Regions from separate parts of the Homo sapiens genome. Here regions 1 and 2 are each linked to region 3. The links are contacts of gene promoters, found by promoter capture Hi-C in blood cells and fetal thymus (Javierre and others, 2016). All regions are on one chromosome and are shown on one strand. Each heading gives the region's core, a stretch centred on a gene start or on the middle of the fragment in contact. The rest is flanking DNA. Distances are from core to core; before and after follow the strand shown. Region 1 overlaps ZHX3 (zinc fingers and homeoboxes 3). Region 2 overlaps ZHX3 (zinc fingers and homeoboxes 3). Region 3 holds the start of PLCG1 (phospholipase C gamma 1).

Evidence for each region. Contacts are between HindIII fragments. The CHiCAGO score rates a contact against its expected background, and 5 or more counts as called.
Region 1: a contact is called between a fragment that was not itself captured here and the fragment with the promoter of PLCG1 in region 3, in 8 of 17 cell types (naive CD4 T cells, activated CD4 T cells, non-activated CD4 T cells and 5 more). The highest score is 24.2, in naive CD4 T cells.
Region 2: a fragment that was not itself captured here is called in contact with the fragment with the promoter of PLCG1 in region 3 in 7 of 17 cell types (non-activated CD4 T cells, naive CD4 T cells, activated CD4 T cells and 4 more); the score reaches 16.8 in non-activated CD4 T cells.

What each region holds. Positions count from the first base shown.
Region 1 is chr20:41,237,354-41,240,756 of GRCh38, forward strand. All of the region lies in intron 2 of ZHX3 (zinc fingers and homeoboxes 3), which reads right to left. Among named protein-coding and RNA genes, the nearest start is that of MIR6871, 70 kb to the left of the region's middle. The HindIII fragment of the contact is 1,134 bases long and covers 912-2,045 here.
Region 2 is chr20:41,215,631-41,218,906 of GRCh38, forward strand. All of the region lies in intron 2 of ZHX3 (zinc fingers and homeoboxes 3), which reads right to left. Among named protein-coding and RNA genes, the nearest start is that of MIR6871, 48 kb to the left of the region's middle. The HindIII fragment of the contact is 215 bases long and covers 1,839-2,053 here.
Region 3 is chr20:41,135,443-41,138,792 of GRCh38, forward strand. PLCG1 (phospholipase C gamma 1) reads left to right here and starts at 2,101. Exons shown (of 32, transcript NM_002660.3): 1 at 2,101-2,416. The coding sequence starts at 2,200. LOC124904903 (translation initiation factor IF-2-like) reads right to left here and starts at 2,071. Exons shown (of 2, transcript XM_047440629.1): 1 at 260-2,071. The coding sequence starts at 1,897. The coding sequence ends at 1,316. PLCG1-AS1 (PLCG1 antisense RNA 1) reads right to left here and starts at 2,558. Exons shown (of 7, transcript NR_109889.1): 1 at 2,272-2,558; 2 at 260-369. RefSeq lists enhancers at 616-1,400, 2,185-2,969, 2,891-2,990, 3,139-3,218 and silencers at 1,371-2,360, 2,481-2,740. The HindIII fragment of the contact is 8,103 bases long and covers 1,059-3,350 here.

The sequences.
Region 1 (3,403 bases), core at 229-2,728, 100 kb after region 3:
GAACCAACCCAAATGTCCAACAAAGATAGACTGGATTAAGAAAATGTGGCACATATACACCATGGAATACTATGCAGCCATAAAAAATGATGAGTTCATGTCCTTTGTAAGGACATAGATGAAGCTGGAAACCATCATTCTCAGCAAACTATCGCAAGGACAAAAAACCAAACACCGCATGTTCTCACTCATAGGTGGGAATTGAACAATGAGAACACACAGACACAGGAAGGGGAACATCACTCACCAGGGCCTGTTGTGGGGTAGGAGGAGTGGGGAGGGATAGCATTAGGAGATATACTTAATGTTAAATGAAGAGCTAATGGGTGCAGCACACCAACATGGCACATGTATATGTAACAAACCTGCACGTTGTGCACATGTACCCTAAAACTTAAAGTATAATTAAAAAAATAAAATAAAATAAAGAAAATATGTTTTATTAACAAACAGCATATTTTATAATGGCGGTGATCAATATTTATTAAACACAAGGTTCTAGAGGGCTCTTCTGGTAGGATAATTCTAAGAAAGAGGTTCCAGATGTCAACTTACATATTCCCTTATAAAACACAGCCCTGGCTTACACAGTATCTGGTGTACATGTCTCTTCTCTCCAATGAACTATAAGATCTTTGAGGTAAGGGTTCAGTGCTGCACCACTCAGCTACACTAATGGCAATGTGCACACAGTGAGCACTCATTAAATACATCAGTTACAGTTCACTTGCAGTTGCTTGCTTACTACCAAAAACCGGGGTCAATCATTATAAGCATTCCCATCCAACACCCAATTTGTTGCATGGGGAATGAACTTCAGTTTGGGTCCCTTGCTATTAAAGCACTCAATACCCATTATTTGTTTGCATTTATGTCGAACTCATAGATGCAGGATCTGAAAAGTTAAATGAAGCTTAACATAGGCATCCAAATAAAATTAATTAGAATTTATATCTCAACTATTTCTAACAGAGTTTGAGTAACAAGACTCAACAGAAGGAAAACAGGGTAATAACAGAGACTAAGAGGGAAAAAAAGGAAGGCAGCAGGGAGTGAAGGCTGGAGAAGAGAAGAAGGAAGGAAAAGAAGGAGGGACAGAGGGTGGAAACATCTATCTAAGCAAGAGCTTCTTCCTCAAGTCAAAAATTTCTGCAAAAAACAACATCTTTTTGGACAAATTTACATGATGCTTCTAACATCTGCTCATTGTGAAAAATGCAGGATAAAAACCTACAAATTCAGTATTTTTAGTATTTTTATCTAAATTTATATTTCATCAAAACAAGATAAATTTGAAAAATATTAATACATATATAGGCAAGACATTTCCTTACTTTGCGGAAATATGCTCACATAAATAATCCATTCTTTGCCAAAATAGAGCCCTTCCAACACCTGTTCCCCAATCTCCAAGGCAGGGTCTTGGTCCATGGGTTAGAATCACTAAAACACACAAAATACAAGGAAATGTATCTATTAAGCACCATTTGGATTCTAAGATGCAAGTAAGAAACCTAATTTGAAAGGGCTTACATAATAAAGGTGGTTTGCTGGCACATGCAAATGGAAAGTTCAGCGGCTTCAGGTTGAGTTTGAGTCAGTTGCTCTATGATGAAAACAAGGGCCTATTTTCTCTCTCTTTTTTTTTTTTTTTTTTTTTTTTTTGGGAGACGGAGTCTTGCTCTGTCGCCCAGGCTGGAGTGCAGTGGCATGATCTCGGCTCACTGCAAGCTCCGCCTCCTGGGTTCACGCCATTCTCCTGCCTCAGCCTCCCGAGTAGCTGGGGCTATAGGCGCCCACCACCATGCCCCGCTAATTTTTTTTTTTTGTATTTTTTAGTAGAAACGGGGTTTCACCATGTTAGCCAGGATGCTCTCGGTCTCCTGACCTCGTGATCCGCCCGCCTCGGCCTCCCAAAGTGCTGGGATTACAGGCGTGAGCCACCGTGCCTGGCCAATAAGGGCCTATTTTCTTTCTTTCTACTTCGTCAACCACATCCTAGGGGTAGCTTCCCTCGTGACAGCAAGGTAACTCCAGCAGCCCCAAGCTTCATGTCCCAAACATCCAGAAGGACACAGAGAGAGGGCCGTCTTGGGGAGGTCTATCAGAAGACTGAAGAGCCTTCTTCCCAAAGTCCTCAGCAAGCATGCTGGTGGCCTGCACAGGTCACATGCCCAGCCATGAACAAACCTCTTGGCATGACTGCCACTGGGTTAATCACTGTGCAACAGGTGTGGGGTTTACCTGACTGGGCTTAAACAATCAAGATCCATCCCTGGAGCTGGGGGTGGGACCAATCCTTCTCCTACCAGAAGACAGAAACAAACATTCCCTGTTTCCTATGGAAGGGACTGGGGAGGGAGGGAGAAGAGACATTGTGAGAAGGGGAACAATTAGAATGCCCTCCACCCTTCACCTGGCACTGAATTTGACCCTGTGATTCCCAGTATCAAGGGAAAATATGGAAATGTATTTTAAGTGACACTATTTTTATCGTTTAACAAAGACAAATGTTTATTCTTATACAGAGATAAATTCTTTTGAAGGGAAACCCAAGGAGAAGAATGTCTTGGAACTGTGTTTAAGAGAAAATAGGTAAAGCAGGAGGCTTAGTTTGGAAAGATGCAGTCACACTCAATAGGCCATTCCTTTTTTTTTTTTGAGACAGTCTCTTGCTCTGTTGCCCAGGCTGGAGGGCAGTGGCGCCATCTTGGCTCACTGCAACCTCTGCCTCCCAGGTTTAAGCGATTCTCCTGCCTCAGCCTTCCAAGTAGCTGGGACTGCATGTGCATGCCACCATGCCAGGCTAATTTTTGTATTTTTTTAGTAGAGATGGGGGGTTTTGCCATGTTGGCCAGGCTGGTCAACAGGCCATTCCTACATGGATCCTCCAGAAGGCAGAGCATGGGACAGTAAATCATATCATAATCCAGTGAAGTTACTTTGGCAGAGGGCTGAGATGATATAGCTCAGATGCTTTCCCTTCAAATCATCGAACTTACTGCAAAGAGTAGTAACTCACATATCTTAGAACCCCTTTTTTAATGTTTATTTTTGTAGGTACATGGTAGGTATATATATTTATGGGTTACATGAGATATTTTGGTACAGGCATGTGACGCATAATAATCACATCAGGGTAAATGAGGAATTCATCGCCTCAAGTATTTATCCTTTGAATTATACTGTTATTTGTAAATGTACGATTATTTTCTACAATAGTCACCCTGTTGTGCTGGCAAATACTAGGTCTTATTCAATTTTTTTGTACCCACGAACCATCCCTATTTCCCCCCCGTCACTCACCCTACTACCCTTCCCAGCCTCTGGTAACCATCCTTCTACTCTGTATCTCGATAAGTTCAATTCTTTTAATTTTTAGCTCCAACAAATAACTGAGAAC
Region 2 (3,276 bases), core at 696-3,195, 80 kb after region 3:
TTTATCATTAAAAACGGAAATAGGCCAGGCGCGGTGGCTCACGCCTGTAATCCCAGCACTTTGGGAGGCCAAGGAGGGTGGATCACAAGGTCAGGAGATCGAGACCATCCTGGCTAACACGGTGAAACCACGTCTCTACTAAAAAAAAAAAAAAAAAAAAAATACAAAAAAATTAGCTGGGCATTATGGCGGGCGCCTGTAGTCCCAGCCACTCAGGAGGCTGAGGCAGGAGAATGGAGTGAACCCAGGAGGCGGAGCTTGCAGTGAGCAGAGATGGCGCCACTGCACTCCAGCCTGGGCGACAGAGCGAGACTGTCCAAAAAAAAAAAAAAAGGAAATAATGGTAGAAGTTGACAGAATTACAGAAACATAACTATAGTGGGAGATTTTAAGATAATATTCTAAAGATCAAGTGGACAAAGAAAAAAGATGTAAAGAATGTGACTACTATGAGGTTGATCTGACAGACATGAATATAGTCTTGAGTATTCTATAGTAATTGACTTCACATTCTACACCATGAAACACATTTAAAAGTTACTCGTGATGTATAACAGACCATAAATAAACCTCAACCCATTCCAAAATAAAAATTCATAGGTAGCATTCCACTATTTAGTGCTAGCAACAAAGACTTACTTTGAAATTTATCCTTTTTACTTTGTTTCAAATTATGCTCTAAGTGGAAATTTCTCTCTCGGAAAGAAAGAAAAGTGAAAATCCTTCCTATTCACCCCCAGAGATAAACCATTGTTAACAGTGCAGTATATATGATTTCAGGCATGTTTCCTAGGCATAGCTTACTATAATTAATTCTTTTAAAAAACCAAAAATGGAATTGTATTTTTACATCCTATTTTGACCCTGAGTTTTCGTCTCACAATTATTTAATTTCAATATCTTTCCATGTCACCATCTCTAGTTTACCTCAGTCTTTTAAACAACTTCAGCATTCTAGGTTATGGATGCATCATAGTTTATTTAACCATTCTCCTGATAAGAGACATTTGCATTTCTCCAGGTTTTTAACTATTACAATGACTCGGTGACCATCCCTGCACATATTTTTATACATTTGAGAATTTCTGAAATACTGAATTTCTTACAAGTAAAATTGCAGTAGCATTTAAAATATTGTTAGCAAAATACAAAATTGTCTTTCAAGTAAACTGTACTGATTTTCGCTGTTACCACCAAAGAACTGAGGATGCACTCACTATCACTGCATATTCTTGCTATTTTCAGTCTTTGTTAATTTGATATATAAAACACTAATTACTAGTATTTGGAATCTACATTTCTTTATGAGCAAGGCTGAATATCTTTTCACATGTCATTGACGATTTTGTATAAAATTATCTTTTGTCCATTTTCCTATGGGATGTCAAGTGTTCTCCATATATTAAGAAAATGGGCTATTCTTTACCTGTCATAGATGAAACTGGGGTTTCATCTCCATTTTTTGGAGCCCATCTACCACAGGAGGCAGTAAATGACATTAAAGAATTACTGTTAATGTTGCTATGTATGATAATGGTATTTCAGTTATGTTACAAACAAAAGTCTTAATCAGTTGGTGATGCACACTCGAATATTTATGGGTAAAATAATTTGTTATATAGGATTTACTGGGAGGAAAAACCCAACCCCCTAGAAAAAAATGAGGGATGGGTAGAAATACATGAAATAAATTTGACCATGAACTTATAATTGTTCAAGTTGGGTTGGGATATATATGGCTCATATATATGCTCTTATGTACATTTGACATTTTCATAATTAAAAAAAAATTAAAAGCTCGAGACATATTTTAAAAAGAAATCTTGTATCATAAATGAAGCTTAAATTTATATTTTTAAAAAACATTCTGTTTTAAATGTTTCTCTCTTCCCTTCCTTTGGAAAATGCTGACCTTGGAAACAAAAATCAGATGCAGCCACCCACCCTACTGCTGCCCAAGCCAATCCTAAGTAAATCAGTTGGCTTGCTGGGAAGTTTCCATGACCGAAAAGAAAACAGAATTCACTTCAATTTCATCATCAAAGTCCACGAAAGCTTGCAAAGCACTTCCATATCCTTCTCAATCCATCCTCATAGTCTCCTGAATTGGTTATTATTGGCCTTCCCTCATTGTAGTATTGAGGAGCTATCGAGCAAGAAAGGGGAGGTGATATGACCAGTCACACACGACATATTTTTGGCAGAGCCAGATATTCTGATTCTAAATTCAGTGTTCTCTTTTAGACTATATTCATTCTGAATACCAACTAAACAATACATCCACTACCTGTAACTATTTTGACATTTTTTTCTTACAGAGGGTTCGAAGATTTTACAACCTGAACTATTCTAGTGTTTTGTTTTGTTCTTTAAAAAGGCTTGACAATGTAGTCCTAGCTACTTGGGAGGCTGAGATGGGAGGATCTCATGAGCCCAGGAGTTTGAGGCTGAAGTGAGAGCTATGGTTCCGTCATTGCATTCCAGTAATGTGGGCAACAGAGCAAGACCCTGTCTCCTAAAAATGAAAAAAGAGGCTGGACCAGTGGCTCATACCTGCAATCCCAGCACTTTGGGAGGCCAAGGAGACAGGATTGCCTGAGCCCAGGAGTTTGAGAACAGCCTGGGCAACATAAGGAGACTCCGTCTCTACAAAAAATTTAAAAAATAGCTGGCATGGTGACACGCATGCTTGTAGTCACAGCTAATTGGGAAGCTGAGGCGGATGACTGCTTAAGCCTGGGAGGTCGTAGCTGCAGTGAGTTGGGATTATGCTACTGCACTTTAGCCTGGGCAACAGAGCAAGACCCTGTCTCTAAATAAATAAATAAATAAATAAATAAATGGTAAAAAGGCTTGACAGTTATTATGATCCTTAGTATTTATAACACTTTTATACCGTCAGAAGAGGGTCTGTATTGCTTACTCTTATGTATTAATAGAGAACTCTTTTAACATGAGGCTTGGTGATTAGACCACGGTAAGTCAGTAGGACTCTATAACAAAAAGAACATGTGGAAAACTGTCCTTCCTCAGGAATGTGTGTGGGCAGGACCTTGGCAGTCCAGTAAGTGGATGTGCTGGTTGCAATTGTCAGATTTCTGCTGAAAACAAAAAAGTTACAAAGAACTCAAGTCTAAATCCTCAAATGTCAAAGCAATGTCAAGCCCAGAGCTGGCCTCAATTTGCCCTCTGGTTACTTAAGGGTCACAATAATTTCTGCATTTAGTAATCACCATCAGCCAAGGGCTCAAGGCTAGAGCTCTCTACTTGTTTTTC
Region 3 (3,350 bases), core at 851-3,350:
CTGGCTAGGACAAAGGGTCTCAATGTCATGCTGAATTCTGAGCTTCTTAGGGGACGCACTTGAGGAAATCAACGTTAACACACAAGTTTCCACTACAGCAAGACAAAGTCAGAAGCAGCAGCCCCAGGTCACTATCCAGCTGAGTGGGTTGCCTGAGCACACGCTCTTACAAACTCTAGTCTAGTCCTACTATCTCACAATTCCCAGGAAGCCTGGCTCTTTCTCTGGCATCAGCTGGAAGCTCTGTTGGGCTTCTCACCTCTGAAATGCAGTAAGTTGTCCTGCTGTGCCTGGCAGCCGACCCACTGCCTGGCTCAACATGTCAGACAGGCTCCACCGCGACCGTGGGTGTCCTCAATTTTGGCGGTGCTGACAAGGGTAGATAGATTGCAGGGGTGAGTTTCAAGAATGGCTTCAGAAAGACAAAGAGTATGAATTATATTCCATAACCAGAAAAAGGCCTTGTGGCTGGAGAATGGAGAGTGAAGGATCACTTGTGAGAGATGAAACTGGTGAGATGGGCAGGTCATATAGAACCTGCTAGGCCAAGCAGGGAGTGTGGATTTTAGGTGCAATGGGAATTCACGGAGGGTTTTAGCCTGGATGTAGGGGATCATGATTTAATTTCATTTTAAAGATTTAAAGCATGATAAATCCAGGCAAAACCAAACTGATAGATCCAGGCAAAACCAAACAAGGTGAGTAGTCTGGGTGACAGGAGATGGGGCCTTCAGCTTGTGGGCTGAGTGACAAGGTCTTGATGGATTGGAGGTGAGGCAAAGGGAGGAATCAAAGTTAGCTGCAAGGTTTTTGACCTTCCAACTTAGAGAAGTTTAGCGCCGCGTTCTGAGAAAGTGAAGACTGTGGAAGGAATCGTTTGGGGAGGGAAGGCGAGCTGTCTAAGGGGGGGGGATGTGGAACATGCAGTGGGATGCTGGGGCCTGGAACGTAGGGGAGATGCAGGTTTGGAGTCACCGGTGCCTGTGTTGTTGGGCAAAGCCAGGGGAAAGGTCAGGTCGCCTTGGGATCTGGCCTAGCACTGAGTGCAGAGGAAGAGAAGCTTCTGAGATCGAGAGGCAGCGGCTACAGGAGGAGGAAGAAAGCAAGGCGGGGAAAACCAAAGTTCAGGAGAGCATTTGCAGGAGGGCGCTGCGGGGTAGGGTCTGAGTCGGAGCCCCGAATCGGACTCGAGTCCTGTCGCGTGGGGACGGAGCGTGCAGAGGCCCATGCGAGGGACAGACACAAAGGCCCTGGGAGCTGCAGGTCAGACCACTGGACAGCGCGGCCGCGGACCTAACGCCCCTGTAAGGGGTGCTCACGCTTGGGGGGAACTCTCCGAAAGAGAGGACCACTGAAAGCCACCCTGGCAGCAGGGGCGGAACAGACAGACGTGGGTCTGGCCGTCGCCAGAACTGCCTGCGGACCAGCCCCGCGCTGCCGGGGGGGCGGGACATGTCGGCTGTCCATCAGTGCCCGCGACCAATCCGCAGGCAGCCCCGCCCCCGCCCCTCCCGGGAGAGGGCGCGCGGAGGACCCGCCGCCGCCGGTGTGAGGCGGCCCGTCCTGGCTCCCTTGTCCGGGAAGCCCGCCCAGGTAACTGAGTTTGGCCGGGCATTCCCGGAGGACGCGCCATCCCCTCACGTCCCGTCCCGGTCGCTGCATGGGCGGTGTTCGGGACGCGGGGGCTGCGTCTGTGCGGGACCGCGGGGTAGCGGCCGCCCGTGCGAGTACGCCTGACTGACGCGCCGGCCGCCGGGCCTGCGGCCTGTGGGCGGGGCTGCCGTGCGTGACAGGGCCGCTCGTGGCCGCCGGGCTGTGTCCGGGGCCGCGTGAGAAAGCTCTGCGGGACTGAGGGCTGGGTGGGTCGACCGGGAACGGCGCGCGCTCCCGCCGCCATCGCGCCTCCGTCCCCGCCTGCGGCCTGTCTGGGGGTCGCGGGGCGCAGGCGCGGCGGGCCGACGGGCGGGGGTCCTCCCCACGGGTGCGCGGGCGCCTTTGTTCCCGGCGCCGAAGCGGGGTGGGGCCTCAGGGCAGCCCCGCCCCGCCGCGCTGAGGCCCCGCCCCGTGTCCGCCTGCAGGAGCCGCCGCCGGGTCCCGCTCGTCTGCCGCCTCAGCCTCAGCCCCAACCTCAGCCGCCGCCGTTGCGCTTGCTCCCGGGCGGTCCTGGCCTGTGCCGCCGCCGCCCCCAGCGTCGGAGCCATGGCGGGCGCCGCGTCCCCTTGCGCCAACGGCTGCGGGCCCGGCGCGCCCTCGGACGCCGAGGTGCTGCACCTCTGCCGCAGCCTCGAGGTGGGCACCGTCATGACTTTGTTCTACTCCAAGAAGTCGCAGCGACCCGAGCGGAAGACCTTCCAGGTCAAGCTGGAGACGCGCCAGATCACGTGGAGCCGGGGCGCCGACAAGATCGAGGGGGCCAGTAAGTGCGCCCACTTCCTGCCTGGGCCCGCCCCGCGCGGGGGTCGTGGGAGCCCGGCCCGACTGCTTGCACCCCGGCCGGCCGCCCCAGCGACTTGGGCAAACTTTCGGGCCCTCCCAGACTCCCTCCGGGCCCCGCCCCCGCTTCGTCTCGGGTGGTCACTGGGGGCGGGGGGCATCCGGGTCCTCGGTCACCTGACAGGACACCCCCCCTCCCCCAGCTGGGGGGAGTGTTCCAGGCGCTTTGCCCTGAGGCCTAAAAATCCTCGCGGGCTGGAGACCTGCGGTGCAGGCATCGGGCCCCCCAGACCCTGGGAGTGGTGGCGGCGTCGGCGAGGGGAGCTAAGGCAGTGGCCCCCACCCTGCACGGGAACCTGGGGCCTGACCAGACGGTCCCCGCCCACTCTTTATCCAGAAAGAGCAGTCTGTGAAACTCTCCGGGCCCCCAGGCTGGGCTCTTATTTGCAAAGGAATCTTTGGGTTCCCTAAGTAGAACTTAGGCAGATGTTGGGTAGGGCTGGTCTTGGAGCAGAGCTGGGCCTACTCATCTCCCTCTGGGGGAGAGGGAGGAAGGTGGTCTTGTTTGGTTTGGAGAAGCCTGAGAGAAGCCAGTGGCTGGAATTTTTTTTTTTTTTTTTCTGCTACTTTTGTCCCAAAGCTGGGTTTTGGAGGCCTATGTGGGTGGGCAGACACTCAATGCCAGGGCAGGGACTCCCCTTGCCCTGGGAAGCACGTTCCCAGGAGATGGGCCCCATAAAGGCCTGCCCCAGCGCCTTGGAGTCAGGTATTCTTCTCAGGAGTGCAGCTAGTTTGTGAGTCTAGCCCTTTGTCCTCTGTCCGGTGGCTTCAGGGAGCGGGAGCGGCTTCTCTTAGTTTCCTGCCTTTTCGCCTTCCCAGGCCTGAGCTTGGCTGCTTTTGCGCTGGTCTCTAGTGGG